Regions from separate parts of the Homo sapiens genome. Here region 1 is linked to region 2. Evidence: promoter capture Hi-C in human tissues and cell types (Jung and others, 2019). All regions are on one chromosome and are shown on one strand. The core of a region is centred on a gene start or on the middle of the fragment in contact, and the rest is flanking DNA. Distances in the headings are between cores, read along the strand shown. Region 1 overlaps LOC107984933 (a long non-coding RNA gene). Region 2 holds the start of MECR (mitochondrial trans-2-enoyl-CoA reductase).

What was found. The method cuts DNA at HindIII sites, captures the fragments that hold promoters and counts their contacts. A contact is called where the count stands out against the background at its distance.
Region 1: a contact is called between a fragment that was not itself captured here and the fragment with the promoter of MECR in region 2, in 1 of the 25 tissues and cell types used here (bladder).

What each region holds. Positions count from the first base shown.
Region 1 is chr1:29,509,824-29,514,830 of GRCh38, forward strand. All of the region lies in intron 1 of LOC107984933 (a long non-coding RNA gene), which reads left to right. Among named protein-coding and RNA genes, the nearest start is that of LINC01756, 160 kb to the left of the region's middle. The HindIII fragment of the contact is 3,052 bases long and covers 2,232-5,007 here.
Region 2 is chr1:29,229,335-29,234,096 of GRCh38, forward strand. MECR (mitochondrial trans-2-enoyl-CoA reductase) reads right to left here and starts at 1,600. Exons shown (of 10, transcript NM_016011.5): 1 at 1,397-1,600. The coding sequence starts at 1,572. RefSeq lists enhancers at 976-1,476, 1,477-1,977, 1,502-1,611. The HindIII fragment of the contact is 4,782 bases long and covers 1-2,367 here.

The DNA of each region.
Region 1 (5,007 bases), core at 2,508-5,007, 280 kb after region 2:
AAACACAAAAATTAGCCAAGCATGGTGGCACCAGCTTGTAGTCCCATGTACAGCCATGCCTGTAGTCTCAGCTTTTTGGGAGACTGAGGTGGGAGGATTGCTTGAGTCTGGGAGATCGAGGCTACAGTGAGCTGTGTGTGTGCCACTGCACTCCAGCCCAGGTGACAGAGTGAGACCCTGTCTGAAAAATAAAGAAATTCATGTGAAGCCACATCATAATTAAACACCTGAAAACTAAAGACAATGAAACATCTTAAACACAGTCAGAAAGAAACTACATGTTACTTCTAAGTTACACCAATTTGAATGACAGCCGATGTCTCTTTTGATACCAAGGAGGCTCAAATTAAGTGGCACAACAGTTTTCAGGTACAGAGAGAAAAGAACTGTCAATAGCACATTCTATATCTGGTGAAAATATTAAGGGGAAAATAAAGGCATTCTCAGATGAAGAAAAACTAAGAGAATTTGTTGCTAGCAGATATACCCTTAAAGAATAGCTAAAGGAAGTTCTGTGAACATAAAGGACATGATAATGGAGGAAAGCTAGGAATTTCAGAAAGAATGAAGACTCTAAGAATGGGTGGGGATAAACAGAGTAGACTATCCTTTTTCTTAGGAGTTTCTTAAATCCTATTTGCTGGTTGAAGCAAAAATTAAAAACCATCTAATGTGGTGTATAATGGATGTAAAGGAAGTAGTTTATGATTATCCTCATAAAGTGTGTAAAGAGATCTGAACAGGAGTAAGGGGCCTATGCTTTGTTCCCAGTGTTAAAACATCAACACCAGTAGAACAGGATGAGTTATGTATATATTTTGTGATATTTAGAGAAAACACTAAGAAAATTATAGAAAGTGATATTCTTGTATTCTCAAAAACACTATAAAAAATCAATACAGAATCCTAAAAAATGTTTAGGTAACCCACAAGAAGATACCAAGAGAGATCCAGAGGAATAAGAAACAAAGAAAACAAATAGAAAACAAAAAATAAAACAGCAGACTTAAGCTCTAACATATCAACAATTAAATGCAAATTGTCTCAATGCATCAATTAAAAGACAGAGATTGGCAGAGTGGATTAAAACAAGCAAAAAAAAACAAAAAAAAACCCACAGCAACAATAACTACAACAGAACCTCATACAATCCAACAACATGCTGCATTCAAGTAATTCACTGCAAATACAACAACATAGGTAGGTTGAAATGGAAAGAATGGAAAGAGATACACCATAAAAATGTTGATAAGAAAAGAAAGAGTGGCTATATTAATATCAGATAAAGCAGACTTCAGAACAAAGAAAATTGCTAGAGAGAAAGAGGAACATTACCTAATGATAAAAGGATTCATTTACCAAGAAGACATAACAATCCTAAGTGTGTATGCATTAAATACTAGCGTCTCAAAATACATGAAGCAAAACTGATAAAGCTGAACAGAGTAACAGACAAATCAAAAAATGTAGCTGGAGATTTCAATATGCTATTCTCAGCAATTGATAAAACTAATAGATCATCAGTAAAGCTTTAGATCGGAACAACACGATCAAGAGCAGTGGTTCCTAACCATTCTGGCACCAGGGACTGGTTTCGTGGAAGACAATTTTTCCACGGACATGGGGTAGTGGGGAGAATAGTTTGGGGATGAAACTGTTTCATCTCAGATCATCAGGTGTTAGTTAGATTTTCATAAGGAGCAGGCAACCTAGATCCGTCGCATGCACAGTTTACAATAGAGTTTGCACTTCTAGGAGAATCTAATGTTGCTGCTGATCTGGCAAGAGGTGGGGCTCAGGCAGTAATTCCTGCCCACCTAATGCTCACCTCCTGCTGTGCAGCCTGGTTCCTAATAGGCCACAGACCGACACCGGTCTGCAGCCCAGGGGTTGGGGATCCCTGATCAAGAGGGTCTAATTGACATATACAGAACACTTTACCCCAAACAGAAGAACACACATCTATTTTCAAGTGCCCACGGAACAGTCACTAAGGTAAGACTATACCCTGTGCCATAAATAACAAAAATGAAAACAACGAAAGTTAACGAATGGGTTCAATAGTCAAATGGAGGAGACAGAGGAAAGAGTCAGTAATCTTGGATACAGAACAATATAAATTACTCAATCTGAACCACAGAAAGAAAATATACTGGGAGAAAAAAAGAACAGAGCACCAGGGACCTATGGGACTATAACTAGAGATCTAACACTTATGTCATCAGAATCCCAGGAAGAGAAAAAAAAGGAGGTGGGGGCTGAAAAAAGACTCAGAGAAATAATGGCTGAAAACTTCCTAAATTTGGCAAAAGACACAAACCTACGGATTCAAGAAGCTGAGTGAACTCCAAACAGGATAATCTCAAAAGATATTCACACCAAGACACATCATAGTCAAAATTTTTAAAATTAAAGACAAAGAAAATATCTTGAAAGCAGTGAGGGAGAAATGACAACCTCTCTGCAGGGGAAAAATATTAGAACAAAAAAGGATTTCTCATCAGAAACCATGGAGGCTAGAGGGAAGTGGCTCAACATTTTTTTCAAGTGCTGAAAGAAAAGAACTGTCAACCCAGAATCCTATATTCAGGGAAAATACCCTTCATAAATGAAGGGGAAATTGACATTTTCAGATGAAGAAAAACTAAGATAATTTGTTGCTAACAGAAACGTACCCTAAAAGAATGGCTAAAACACTCTCTAAATGGAGAAGAAACAGTAAAAGAAGGAATCATAGAACACCAGGAAGAAGAAAGAACACAGTAAGCAAAAGTATGGGTAAATATAATGAACTTTTACTCTCCTCTTAAGTTTTCTAAATTGTATTTGATGGTTGAAAAAAATTATAGCACTTTCTGATGTGGTTCTAAATGTATATAGAAGAAATAGTTAAGAAATTTATATTATTAACGAGGAGGGTAAAGGGAGGCAAGCTTTCTATACTTCCCTCAAACTGGCAAAATGATGACACTAGTAGACTGTGATAAATTATCTATATATTAATGTAATGTAACTGACAGTAACCACTATAGACACTATACAAAGAGATATACTCAAAACCAGTATAGATAAGTCAAAATTGAAGTCTAAAAAAACTATTCACATAACCCACAGGAAGGCAGAAGAAAGAAACAAGGGATATTGGTCTGTAGTTTTCTTTTTGTGTGCTGTCTTTGGCTTTTTTGGTATCAGGGTAGAGGAATGGCTGGTTGAAAGTAACACAAGTTTTTTCAACTGAAAAATGAGGAAATCATAGGCCTCACGTCACAGGAAGGGTTGTGGTTGTGAGGTTTAAGGTAATGCATATAAAACAAATGCATTAATGCCTGGCACTTACAGTATGTAATTCACCTTTAATAAATGATTGCTATAATTTTGTTTAATAACGTAGTGTCACTTCCTAATTCAAGATCGCCCTGGACTGCAGTCTGAATCAACCTATTTTTTTGTAGTATTTAAATTTATAAGTTCCAAAATTGATCTGAAACAGTTTAGTTATACATTGGATGAAATATATTTATAGAAATCAGGATGATGGGGGAAATGAAAGCCTTATGGTTAACTAAATGATATCATCAGGTCTCCATTCTTGGCTCTGGTCTCCACCATGCCAGCCTCACACACAGACAGGCTCTCTCCTCTAGATGGCTCCATGGTTCCACGCTCACACCCTGTGGTCTCTGATTCCACGGACAGGGCCGGAATTCAGCCTGATTGGCTCAGATTGGGTCATGTGCTCATGCCTGAACCAGTCACTGTGGCTGGGGAAGCAAGGCTCTGATTGGCTAGACCTGGGGTTCTGGCTACCCCTCCATCTGGGGTGGGGTGATTTCTGCAGGACCCCTTAGGACCGAGAGGGTTTCTCCAGGGAAATAAGGAGGCTATTATCAGAGGCGAGCCTTCTGGTGGGGTGGGCAGAATCAGCAGATGTTGGTGGTGGCTGGAGTCACAGATGGGCTTTTAGTTTGCTAAAGCTGCCATAACGATGTGTCACAAACCGAGGGGCTTCAAGGACAGAATGTATTGTGTTCCCTCATAGTTCTGGAGGCTAGAAGTCCCCATTTAAGGTGCCAGCAATGTGAGTTCCTTCTGAGGGCTGTGAGGAAGAATACGTTCCATGTCTTCCCCTAGCTTCTCGGGGATGGATGGCTGGCAATCTTCGGCGTCCCTTGGCTTGTAGAAGCGTTACCCAATTGCTGCTCCCATCTTCATATGGCATTCTCTTGGTATGTGTGTCTCTACGTCCAGGTTTCCCCTTTTTACAAGGACACTAGTTATATTGAATTGGGGCCCACCCCAATGACCTCATTTTAAATTGATTGCCTTTCTTTGTAAAGGCCCTATTTCCAAATGAGGCCACATTCTGAGGTGCTAGGGATTAGGCTTTCGACATATAAATATTTGGAGGACACAACCCAAGCCATAACAGGCGTGACAGCTGGTACCCACCCAGATCCTCTTGACTGACCAGGGCACCAATTCTTTCTGGCTGCAGTGAGTATTAACCTCAGCTCAAGAGCGCTGACTGCAGACTCACCTTGCAAAGGCTAAGAGGTTAAACTCTCCCCACACGGTGACCTTCAGCTAATGACACAGGGTTCAAAAAAATCTATCTCACTGCCCAGGGCAGGAGAGCCGTGTGGTGCCACAGATGACGTTCCAGAGCTCCCCGTGGGCTCAGGCTGGGGGTGAACTCGCGTTGAGCCCATGCCCTGGTCTGGCTTCTTGCCTGCCCTCTGCTGCTTCCGTCACTCCCGTTCTCCTGAGGGTATGCCCTCCACAATCCCACACATCCCCACACATCTCCGTCTCAGGCTCTGCTTCTAGGGAGACCGACCTATATGGAATCTTCTGGAACAGCCATCCTCGGGCACCTGCCATCCTGTAGATCACGTTCTCTCTGTGAGGGGCTGATTCAGAAAGGGCTCTGTTGCCAAGCTCCCAGCAAGGCAGGGCTGGCATCGTGGGGTCTTGCAACCCAAGTTCCCGCTGCTCGTTTGTCGCAAT
Region 2 (4,762 bases), core at 350-2,849:
AGGGATTACAGGTGCCCACCACCAAGCCCGGCTAATTTTTTTGTATTTTTAGTAGAGATGGGGTTTCGCCACGTTGGCCAGGCTGGTCTAGAACTCGTGACCTCAGGTGATCCACCCGCCTCAGTCTCCCTAATGCTGGGATTACAGGCGTGAGCCACCGTGCCCAGCTCTAGCCTGAATTTTAACCATTAAAGTAATACCACATTTGCCCATCCTTTGGAAAATAATCAAACTATTTGCTGGGAATCAAAGAGTTAAAAAGAAGGTACTGCACAAGAGTATGCAGGTGTTTTTTGGTGGAGAGCACTACATAGATCTTAGGTGATTACCACTATGAACTTTGTCTGTACTGTCTCCATTTTTTAAGATGATGAAACCGAGGCTCAGAGAACCTCAGTAACTTGCCAAATGCAAAGCTAGGACAAGGATTTGACCCCAAGTATTTTGATTCCCAGACCTGTGCTTTTGCTTTAGCTCCACTTCAGTGGCCCCAATAGCCCTTCTGAATGGCTATTTATGTGCAGATTTACAATGGTTGGCAACTGACATACTATTTTTATCAACCACGTGCAAAAAGCATGAATTAAGATCCAACAGAATTTTAGGAGGAGGACAAAGTCATAAAAGTAACGAGAAGTTGAATGACTTCTCTAAGACCAAACAGCTACTAAGACGTTGAGCCTGTATTTGACCAAATATAGATACTTGGGTCTGTATGGCACCAAAGCAGCTCTTTTTAACCAAGCCAAGATGCATATACGGTGCAGTGGAGAGAAACATGAGTTTGGAATCAGAAGCCATGGATTCCAGTCTCCTGTTCCAATCACTTATTAGCGGTATCACTCTGGGCAAGTCCCTTGCCCTCTGGAAACAATGATCTATGACCTACTCTTTACTGACACATGAAGATCCAAATGGATGTAAAAGTATTCTGAAAACTTCTTCCAAATAATAATAATAATAGTAAGAACTCACGCAGGTCAGTCAGACATAGGTTGGAATTCTGACCCTGTCACTTACTGGCTGTGTGACCTTGGACGAGTGATTTTACCTCTTCTGCCTCAGTTTTCATCTGCAAAATGGGGATAAATCAATAACTACCCCAAAACATTGTTGTGACAATTAAATGAGAGCATCCATTTAAACAAGGGATTGCCTGACACAATATTCGATCAATAAACATCAGCCATTAATACCCTGATAATTGCCTCTCGGGTCTTCAGCTACCTTCAAGTACGGTCTTTCTGACCTACCAAAAACGCCCTGGGCTTCGGCTTCGGTTTGCTATTCTCTGCCCCCTTCCTCGGACCCTGTCCCTCTCTTCCCAGTCCGCAGCTCGTGTTAAAGCCTTCCAGAAACCCCAGTCCCCTTCCCCGGCTTCGGCGCCGTCTCTTACTCGACGACCTTGGCTGGATCCCCGTGGTGCCCATAGACAAGCGCCCGGACCCGGGCAGGCTCGGCGGATGCGGAGTAGGAGGAGGCGGCAGGTCCGTGACAGCCAGAAGCTGGGAGCAGCCCCCGCCACTGCCGGGCGGGGGTTCGCACCCGCCACAGGGTACTGCAGACCCACATGCTCGCTCCAACCAACACAGAGCCTGACGCCCCGGCTACGTCATCTTCCAGCGACCGCGCGCCTGCGCCCCGCCCCTGCCCCGCCGGGTGACCACTCCCCCTTGGTCCCTTTGAAGGGCGTTTCCTTCCTTCGCTGCCCAAGTGGTGGCGCCTGGCTAGACTGCGTGTGGGCCCCGGAGGGATCCGGGGGTGCGGAGCTTGCGAGGCCGCCAAAGCTGTTGTCTCAACAAGGAGAGTCTGGGGCTAGTCCAAAGTCGTGTCTACAGCCTGCAGTTTGGTGTTTGATTTGGAGGAAATATTTACTCTCCCTGGCCTCAGTTTACCCTTCACATAATATATTGAGTGCTCACCGAGCCAGGCTCTTTAAGGTATTATCTCATTTAATCACCACTACCATGTAACGGCATAGGGAGGCAAAGCTTACTTCCCTACACTGAGGAGAGTACACGAAAGCTGCTGTGGAGGCAGGAGTATGGGGCTTGGAGTTAGAAAACTTAGGTTCAAATCCTAGCCCTGCCACTTCCTAGCTTGGCCACCTTGGGCAGGTGAAACTCTGAATTTTTCTCATCGGTACAATGGGGATAATATGCCTCCTTCCGGATTGTTGTGAGGATTGGATGAAATAATAGAGGAATGCTATTGTGGGTGGGAGAACGCATTGTAAAAAACTCTGTTCAGATGTAAGACAGGAATCACAAGGAGAAGGGTCCTCTCTCAAAATGCTCACAGTGTAGAAAGGGATTAAGTGGAACACTGGAAATGCCTGTAAAAAGGTGTAGCCCTATGAAGGATCTAGTCTGATTTTTGGTGTAGGGAAGACATGAACATTACTAAAACCCCAGATCGAGCTGTGGCTCGTGCCAGAGTGCAATGCTGTAGTCTGAAGAGAAGTGCTCTGGGATGGGGTGGGATGGGGTGGGGGCTCTTGGAGGAGGTGCTGTTAGAGCCAGCCCTGTGATTCAAAATCTTCTGTGTGCATAAAAATAATCCGAGGTCCCATCTTAGACCTACTGAATTAGAATCTTGCGGATGGGGGTTCCAGGAATCTACATCCTTACAAGCTCCCAAGAATATTCTGATGCAGGTGTCCCAGGAAACAGGTTTTAAGATACTGAGCCAGGGCTTTGAAGGATAAGGAAGAGTTCCTTTCCTGGATTTTATTGACTTGAAGCTTGCCATCTCCAAGCCTTTCCTCTGAGGAAGAGAGCACAGCAAAGTACTGTGAGCTAGATTTGGACAAACCTGGCTTTATGTCCTAGCTCTGCCATTTTCCAGCCATTTGATTTCGGACAAGTCACCAGGCCTCTCTGTGTCTTCACTTTCTTACTCTTAAAATGGAAGGAATACTAGTTATCTGTTTCAAGATTGTTGTGAGGGTCAAGTGAGATATTATCCACTTGAAGCATTTAGTACAATGCTTGGCACATGGAAGCATTTGATAAATATTATCGGGGGTTATTGTGATTAAATGAGAAATATCACACATAAAACCCTCAGACTAGGGTCTGGCTTATAGTATGTGCTCACTAAATGTCTGTACTTGTTTTTATTATTAGAGAAAGTTGGTGTCCCATGGTGGGGGAAAGGCTTGGCCCCACATTTATGTGCCAGCACACACACGATGACCAGTCCTGCTTACCCTTTTCCCCAGTGACACATAGGCTTACTTGAACTGGGAAGTACAACGTAACCTTCTGTTGTAAGACTCCCTAGGTGACATTGAGATGTCGACATTCTCTTCTTCACCAAATTGGCTCCTCTGAATTTCTGGGGAGCCCAGTCAGGAAGCCTGAAGAATCATCCAGCAAGTCCTCCTCCTTGGGGCTGGACTTTAGCCTCCTGTGCATCCCAATAGCCCTCACTTTTAGTCTAGGCCATCTGGGTTCTTGCAGGGGCATAGTTTGAGAACTACTGACTGAGGGGTTCAAGTCCAATTTCCTGGACTTGCATTCAAGATTCTTTGCACTCTGACTCCCACACTGCATTTCCAGCTTCATCTTCTCCTGTTGGACCGTGCATAGCCTGTGATCCAGCTGCATCTGATACCCGTCTTCCCCAGTGTGTCTTGTGCCTTTATTCAGGCCACTCCTTCTGCCTGAAATGCTGTTCCCTGCCTCGGAAACTCCAGGTTCAGATGTCATTTCTTTGATGTTTCAAAACTCCCTAGGTCATCTGCTGCTGCCTTTGTGTTTTCCCTGGAGCTGTGTTATGGCCTTTAGTACATCGTCTCTTATTTATTCCCCTCCAGGCAAGACTGGAGCCATGTTTGGTTTATCTCCATAACACCAGCACCCGATATGAGCCTGGCACAGGGTAGGTGTCATAAATATTCCATGAGTTGCAGGTAATTGAATTTCCTCATGGCCTAGAACGGTCTGTGGTGCCATCTCCTTTTCCCTAGATTTGGGCTGGTCACTCCAGGCCAGGAATTTCCTTCTTCCTTCTTCTCTCAAGGATTATAGAAGTCTGTGGTCTTTTTTTTTTTTTTTTTTTTTTTTTGAGACAGAGTTTTGCTCGTTGCCCAGGCTGGAGTGCAATGGCGCGATCTTGGCTCACTGCAACCTCCGCCTCCCAGGTTCAAGCAATTCTCCTGCCTCAGCCTCCTGAGTAGCTGGGATTACAGGTGCCCGCAACTACGTCTGGCTAATTTTTGTATTTTTTTTTTTTTTAGTAGAGACAGGGTTTCACCATGTTAGTCAGGCTGGTCTCAAACTCCTGACCTCGCCTCTGCCTCCCAAAATGCTGGGATTACAGGTGTGAACCACTGTGCCCGGCTGAAGTTTGTGGTCTTTTAAAAGTAAAGCAGAAAGTCCTCTTCTCATCTGTCTACCTGTTGCTTGTGTTCTCTTTCTCCCTCCATTATAGTCTCTGCCATCTTCCCCTGCACAAAGGGCAAAGGGATGTGGAATCAGTCAGATCTGGGTTCAAATCTAGGGCCCGCCGTCTATTTACTAGCTGTGTCACCTTAGGCAAGTGTCATATGCTCTCTGAACCTCAGTTTCCACACCCGTAAAATGGGATCACTGGTAAAACTCCTATTTTGAGGCTCTCTCAAGAGCCCTCTGCAAACAGCACCCTTGGTTGTTTCTTCTGTTCACTGGTTTTCTCTCCTTGAGTTTCCTTTTCTGGGTGGGCCTCTCTGGCTCCTCTCTGCTCCAGCGTCTCTGTATCTTAGTTTCTTCCCTAAGGT